2 separate regions of the Homo sapiens genome follow, and region 1 is linked to region 2. The links are contacts of gene promoters, found by promoter capture Hi-C in human tissues and cell types (Jung and others, 2019). All regions are on one chromosome and are shown on one strand. The core of a region is centred on a gene start or on the middle of the fragment in contact, and the rest is flanking DNA. Distances in the headings are between cores, read along the strand shown. Region 1 overlaps LOC101929563 (a long non-coding RNA gene). Region 2 holds the start of ELAVL2 (ELAV like RNA binding protein 2).

Region 1 (3,210 bases), core at 579-3,078, 200 kb before region 2:
GTTAAATAAATATTTGTTGAAAATAGAAAAGAAAGGAAAGAAGAGAAGGAGGAACAAAGTCGGTATCTTCAAGGATTCTCCACCTTGGACTCGGCACATTAGCTTCTATGCGGGCCTTTTCATTTGAACGTATCAAGAGAAAAACCACTAGGAGCCCAGATCTCAGACAAACTAAACATGTAGCTTTTGTGGTTTTCAAGAGAATCCATTGCAAACAGTTTGGTTTCTAGGTTAAAAGAAAAACAAAAACAAGCATTTTTCAAGCAAGGTAGCTGAAGCACAGATAAAAGTTTAGAGTACATCTCTGGGTTGCTGTCAAAATCCCTTTCTGATTAAATGTAATAAAAGAGAGTCAATACTAAAATGTTAATAAAATGATGTTTTTCCCCTAGTCGCTAGCATCTAATAAAGGTGTTTTGATCCTATTTATGAAATAAATTATATTACTTAGTACCCAAAGGTGTGATTTTGTCTGTGGGAGGTAATCATATTCTAATTTAATGACAGAGAGGAAAAATCATGCATGACTAAAATAGCTGTAACACAGGCTATCCAGCTTTAAGAAGACTTACATCTTGAAAGGGGCTACAGACATGCCAATGCTTGTTAAAGTATTAAAATTAACATGTTTAAATTTTTTCATTTACTATATATTCAGTGTGCCTTCTTCCAGATCCCATAAGCCCACACTATCTTTCTCATGCATATTTAATCTTTTTTTCCCTGGGAAGTCAACTCCACAACCACCCCTCCAGAAAAAGAACTGTAAACAAGGCTGAAGGGAAAAGTGAGACAGGGAGATGAGGCGAGAGCAATGCAAAAGGACAGATGGCTAAGAAAAGCAGAGCATCCTAGAGTCACCCTCAAAGGAAGAGAGAGACAATTAGAACCAGAAGGGAGCAGATTCATTTCGGAGGCATTTAAGGCTCTAATATCTTCCCCAAGCGGAGAAATGGGTTCTATTTTGAGGCAAAGGGGAGGCTTATGAATACTTTATAATGTTTGCATTAGACAGCCTATGTCAGCATGAATAGATTGCATCCTTTGGGTGAGTAAGCCACTCCCTGGTCAGTGGTTAGAAATTTTAAATGTCTTTCCTGAAGCAAACTTCCTGGGAGCAGTTGAGTCACCAACTAAGGTGATTTAGAGGCAGACAGAAAACCTTTAATGGAGGAATAATGAACTACTCTGCATGCATCCATTAGGCCCCAAGAGTATAGGAGGCCTCCCAACAGGGTTCAGCAGAAAACCATTAGTGCAGCCACATTTTGAACTGTATGAAGACAACTGGGGAAGAACCTAAAGCGTAAACTCTCTCTTCAGCCACACCAACATCATTTTCTACCTTAAGCTGGGATGGCATGACTGGTATGTGATTTCGTAAGAAAAAAGGGGTCAGTATGATTTATTAAAATTCTAATCATTCAATCAAAATTTCTGGTGAGAATTCCCTTGTCTAATACTTGGGCAACCATAACTAAGGCCATCCTGCTGTCCAAGCACATTTTTGTTTCAAGTGAGTAAGGCAAGTGCTGTGCCTGAGTTATATAGGAAATACATGCTTTCCTATAAGATTGCTAAGGGCTAACTAAATTCTAGGCCTAATTAATTTCATTAAAATGACACTTGGTTTGAAAAATATTTTAGTTTCACTTCTCTCAGAAGTAGATCAAGAGGTGGATATTAGAATGCAAGTGGGAGGTGATTTGGGGCAACTCCTGCAAAAACATGAGACAGGAAAAAGGAAGTGAGCTAATAAAAGGTTCATTGTCAATAAATTACCACAATGGGCAAGTGGCGCTTAATCTCACTGGGGAATTCTAGGAAGCAGCATGGAAAATGTGCCTCAAAACTTAACCCGCCTGAGAGAGGAAGTATAGTCATATACCAGCTCCCCATTATGGGATGCTGGGGGTGGGAAAAAGGCCTTAATTGTCCAGCACTTTCCAACCTGCTGCCTGCCTGAGGGTGGAAGAGTGGGTGGTGGTTGAGGGAGAAAGCCGAGTGGGTTTCAGCAGCCACGGAAAGCACGTAAGGAGAAAGAAGCTGGTGCTTGCACCAGAGGTCAAGCCCAGTGTGCACTGAAATGGCAGGGGTCTAGGGCAGCAAGAGCAACTGCTGCTGCAGGAAGAAAAGTCAAAAAGGAAGCAAGCGCCAGTGGACTATAGCGAACTAGAAAACATGGGCTTTCAGTGTCGCTTGTAGATACTAACATTCGTTACAGGCTTCAATCCAACCAAAAAAAGTTACTCATATACCCCCAGCAGCTGCAGCCACACAACCACTACCACCACCCAGTGCCCAGAATGCTTAGGTGGAAGACAAAGCTGGATTGCTCTGCTTAATAAGGGGTGTGGAACTTAAAGTGCCCTAAGAGAATCAAGGAAAGAGGACAGATGCCTAGGAGCCTGGGTACTGTGTGAAAGTTGAGGAAGAAAAAAAAAAAATCACCACCCCTACTCTCCATTCTGCTCTAGGAAGAATAGCTATGTAGAAAAGACTGGAGAAAAGAAATCTGTAACAGACGATTTTTCATAGTTTCTTGTTTCTTAATGTGAGACACACATATGCACATACAATAAACTTCCTCTCCCCTCTATTCTTAAAAACCTTCAGTGCAAACTACATTATCCACTAACACTTTGGTAGGAGGTGATTCTAGAGTCACTCCGAAGGTTGCCATGCCCTACATCTGAGGTGGGCATTGACAAGGGGACAGTGCACTTCCTAGCTATATCCCTGTTCAGAGCACTTTCTAACATACCAGAGCTCCACAACAAGTCACTCGTTCGCTGATTCAGTCTCAGATGTACATTTTGGTGTTTCCCCCACCGAGATCCCCCATTAGATGTTTTAAAAATTGAGACCAACATGAAACTCTGACTTCTGGGGTAAAAACTCCCAGCAGTTTTAATATATTGGGATAACCACATAGCTCTTATCAGTTAAAGAGTATGTATTAAGATTGCCACAATCCCCACCACTCTTTTTGTTTCCCATACATTACACTTGCACTGATTTTTCCCAGGAAATCCTAGCAAAAACGTGTCTAGCAAACATGGAAAAAGGAAAACTACTGCTAGCCAGAGCACTGCATGATTCTAGAACAAAAGAGAATGTATACTTCTCTGTGGAAATGAAGAACAATCCTAAGTCTAATACAAAAAGTGTGTGTTGTGTTTGAAGTTTCTGGAGTCCTTGAGACTGACC
Region 2 (3,372 bases), core at 458-2,957:
GAGCACCACATGAGCGCTCTCACGCACACACTCACCCACACCCCCTCGTGCCAATAATTTAAACTTCTCTTAGGAAAGCCAGCAGCTTGTTCCACCACCACCACCCCTTCCGCCCTCCCCGGCCCACGAACATCCTCCCCCTTTCCCACATCTACCCTGGATCCTCTCTTTGGCAGTAGAAAGCCAAATGATTTCTCCTAAACCCTGAGAAATCACAAAAGTTAAAATGAAGCGTGTGCCTATCTGCCCAGCTTGTCATCCCCAACCATCTTTCTCCTGGCGTCAATTTAACAATAGCTATTCGAGGAAGTGGGGGCGGTAAGGAGGGGGTGAGGGCTACGTGGCCGAGTTGGCTCCTGGGGTGGCTGCGAAGCCTCGCGGCTGCAGAGGGGTTCCCCCTCTCCCCGAAGGCGAAGTCAGCCGCGTAGGACCAAGGACAGGGCTTGGAATCCACTTCCCAGCGCCCAGCACAGCGAGGCTCCCAAGCAGCCGGCACTTCATAGACACAGCTCCAAGGATCTTATTTACGCTTTTCTGAACAAAGGGAATCTCATATCCGGTACAGGCTTAAGAATTCAGCCCCAAATTGGCTATCTTCTTTTAAAACTGAATTATGATAATTGGAGTCCGTGAATCAGAGCCCGCATACAATGATGAGTTCTGACAGCTTCTAACAACCCTAGCCTCAGCCCAGCCCCAGCCCCAGCCCTCAGGCGGCATGTACTTTTTTCAGTCAACTACAACTCGCTGCCTGGTGCAGCATCTAAATTCCATCTGGCAATCCCATCTCCCCAGCACATGCTATCTGGTTAATGCAATTAAGCCTGTGGTTTTCGCTGGTCTAATCTGCCAGTCCAGGCTTCTGATTCCCCTTAATGATTGTAAAGCCTCTCCCGTCCTTCCGTTGCTGAGCCAAAGTAGAGGCATGCATCCCCAACACCCAAGTTATCACTCTCTCCCCACGAAATGAACTTCCGATCTCAATCTTGAAGCTCACTCCACATCTAACCTCCCATTGTACCCCTACTCCCCCCTGGCCACATTTACCACTTAAGTTTCTGCCATGGACATTTACGAATATTCAGTACGCTAAGCATGCGTCCACCGTCTTTTAGTCTAGCTCTTTAAAATTAAAAAAGCAGAACAGTAGCTTTGAAATGAGACAAACATGTGCAATTAACTTCATATTCTGTATTCCGCTCACTTACAGGTTTTCTGGGTTTGCCAGCGCATCGCTGCAACTAATGATTAAAGAAACCAAACCGAAACTTACCTTTCTCCCTTAAGGTTTTTGTGTATGTGTGTTTTTAAAGTAACGGTGCAGTTCTCCCAATAAGGATGAGCAAGAAGCTGCTGGATAGTTCTCTTAAGACAGCACGAAACCTAAACTGTGCTCGGCTTAAAAGAAGCAAATAAAAAGAAACGCTTTCGACCCCAAAGTCCAATGCTAAAAGAAATGGCGAAAAAAAATATGAAAGGGGAGGGGAAACTTAAAAAAGAGTTTAAAAAGACGGAGAGACTACCCTCCTATTGCCGTTCAACTAAACAAAAAGGGGCAAGAAAAACAAACCAAGGAACAAAGAAAAGAGACGAAAGAACGTTTTTTCAAAAAGACGATGTCTTTCTCCTTGTTGCTTTTTAGTAGGTCGCTACAGGAGTAAGCTGCTGCATCTCTAACTAAGAACAGAAATAGGGGGGAGGACGTCTTAAAAGGGAGGTGGACTGGACCACAGATTTATAGCACCGTATCACCAACCCCTTCTCTGCCTCCGCACTGCCGTGTGTGCAGCTGCTCTGCCAGGCTCCTATCCCGGGCAGCACGCGCGGAAGTATACGCCGAATCGCGCCACAACGTAACTTGCTCATCGCCCCAGGATCCTGATTGGTCCACACGCTTCCATTGAGGCCGCCCAGGCGGGGCCGCGTGAGACGATTGGCTATGGGCTTGTGTCACTCTCGAGAGCTCAATGGAGTCCCGTTTCAAGGTAAGTTGTGCGGGGAGGTACACTCTTAACACTGGCGGCGAAGGGAAATGCAAGAAGCAAAAAGAAATGTGGAGAGAGCAACGTGGGAGGGTTGGAACTGTACTATCAGAGTTTGCGATATGGCACGATCTCCTTTCCTCTTAAATCTTTCTGCTTCAGAAAGATTCATTTCCTTTGCCATCACTGCTGCATCTGTGGCATATTTCTTTATAACATTTAACTCTGTCCGGTATGTATGAGTCATTGAGAGCTCCCTCTCTTTGATCTGAGTGAAAGGGATGAATGTACATCCATTATTTGCCCGCATGCCTTTTTTCGATTTGTGTTCAGTACTGTATTTTGTATTAGATGTTAGGTAATTGTATGTCTTTATTTTAATATACGCATATTTCAGATTTATGTGTCCCCATGAACCCCTTTTTAAAGCATCCTTTTAAGATAAAGATGAAGTCAGAAATGCTCTCAAATAAAGCTGCACGGTTTGAATTGGCTTTCACTTCATGTTAGAATAGAAAAGTGTAGGATAAATATCCTATCCAGAAAAAGAGGTATTGAGTAGAGCTAAGGTCCTTCACTTCGAGGTGTCTAATGATTCTCAAAAAGAGCAGCTGTATATAAAACTGGAACAAGCCACTCCTCTGCATTTGCAGACAGGTACAGTCCTTGGACCACACATGTATTGCTGACAGCAAAGATAGTTGAACCTTTATCAGGGCTCTTTCTGTGAGGATTTAAGAAGTTTAACCAGAAGACCAAGTGCTATCAATGCTTCTGCTTCATAGAGGAAGACTACTTTATTACAACCCCATATTTTAACAGCATTCAGGAGACCAAAATACAGTTTTATGCATGATAATTGTTTCTTCCTCTAAGTGAAAGTGAGGTCCTCAGGATCGTCTGGATGTATAAGTAGACACAATATTCATTTGACCTACGTTCTTTTCCAGCCAGCATTTCTCTTTTCAATCTTGAAAGATAGCACCAACTTCCTAGACAGTTTTTACCATTCTTACCAGAATGTGTAAATGTAATGTACACATTACATTACACATGTAATGTGTCTTAACCAGAGGCACATGCCTTTTTGAAAGGGATTCCTTTACATATTTACAACTAGTCGCTATCTTTGAGAATGCCGGAAAAAGAAGACACAGGTAAGAGTTAGAGATTGCAAAAGGGTAGGGTGTCATGGAGGGGAATGGGACAGAAGATCCCAAAGCAAAATGACTTTGAAGTGAGGAATACAGTAAATCAGTGTTCTTTGAGAGTGTCCTTGAGTGTTGATAAATGATTAATGGTGAAAAACAGACCTGTTTATCTCCCGTGTAGCCTGTATAACAATATACGAGTTCTGTTACTTTGCATGACAATACCTGGGGCTTGAGAA

Evidence for each region. The method cuts DNA at HindIII sites, captures the fragments that hold promoters and counts their contacts. A contact is called where the count stands out against the background at its distance.
Region 1: a fragment that was not itself captured here is called in contact with the fragment with the promoter of ELAVL2 in region 2 in 2 of the 25 tissues and cell types used here (dorsolateral prefrontal cortex and thymus).

What each region holds. Positions count from the first base shown.
Region 1 is chr9:23,620,307-23,623,516 of GRCh38, forward strand. All of the region lies in intron 9 of LOC101929563 (a long non-coding RNA gene), which reads right to left. Among named protein-coding and RNA genes, the nearest start is that of ELAVL2, 200 kb to the right of the region's middle. The HindIII fragment of the contact is 5,206 bases long and covers 1-3,210 here.
Region 2 is chr9:23,824,533-23,827,904 of GRCh38, forward strand. ELAVL2 (ELAV like RNA binding protein 2) reads right to left here and starts at 1,708. Exons shown (of 7, transcript NM_004432.5): 1 at 1,274-1,708. It overlaps LOC105375992 (a long non-coding RNA gene), which reads left to right and starts at 1,896. Exons shown (of 3, transcript XR_929519.3): 1 at 1,896-1,985. The HindIII fragment of the contact is 12,029 bases long and covers 1-3,372 here.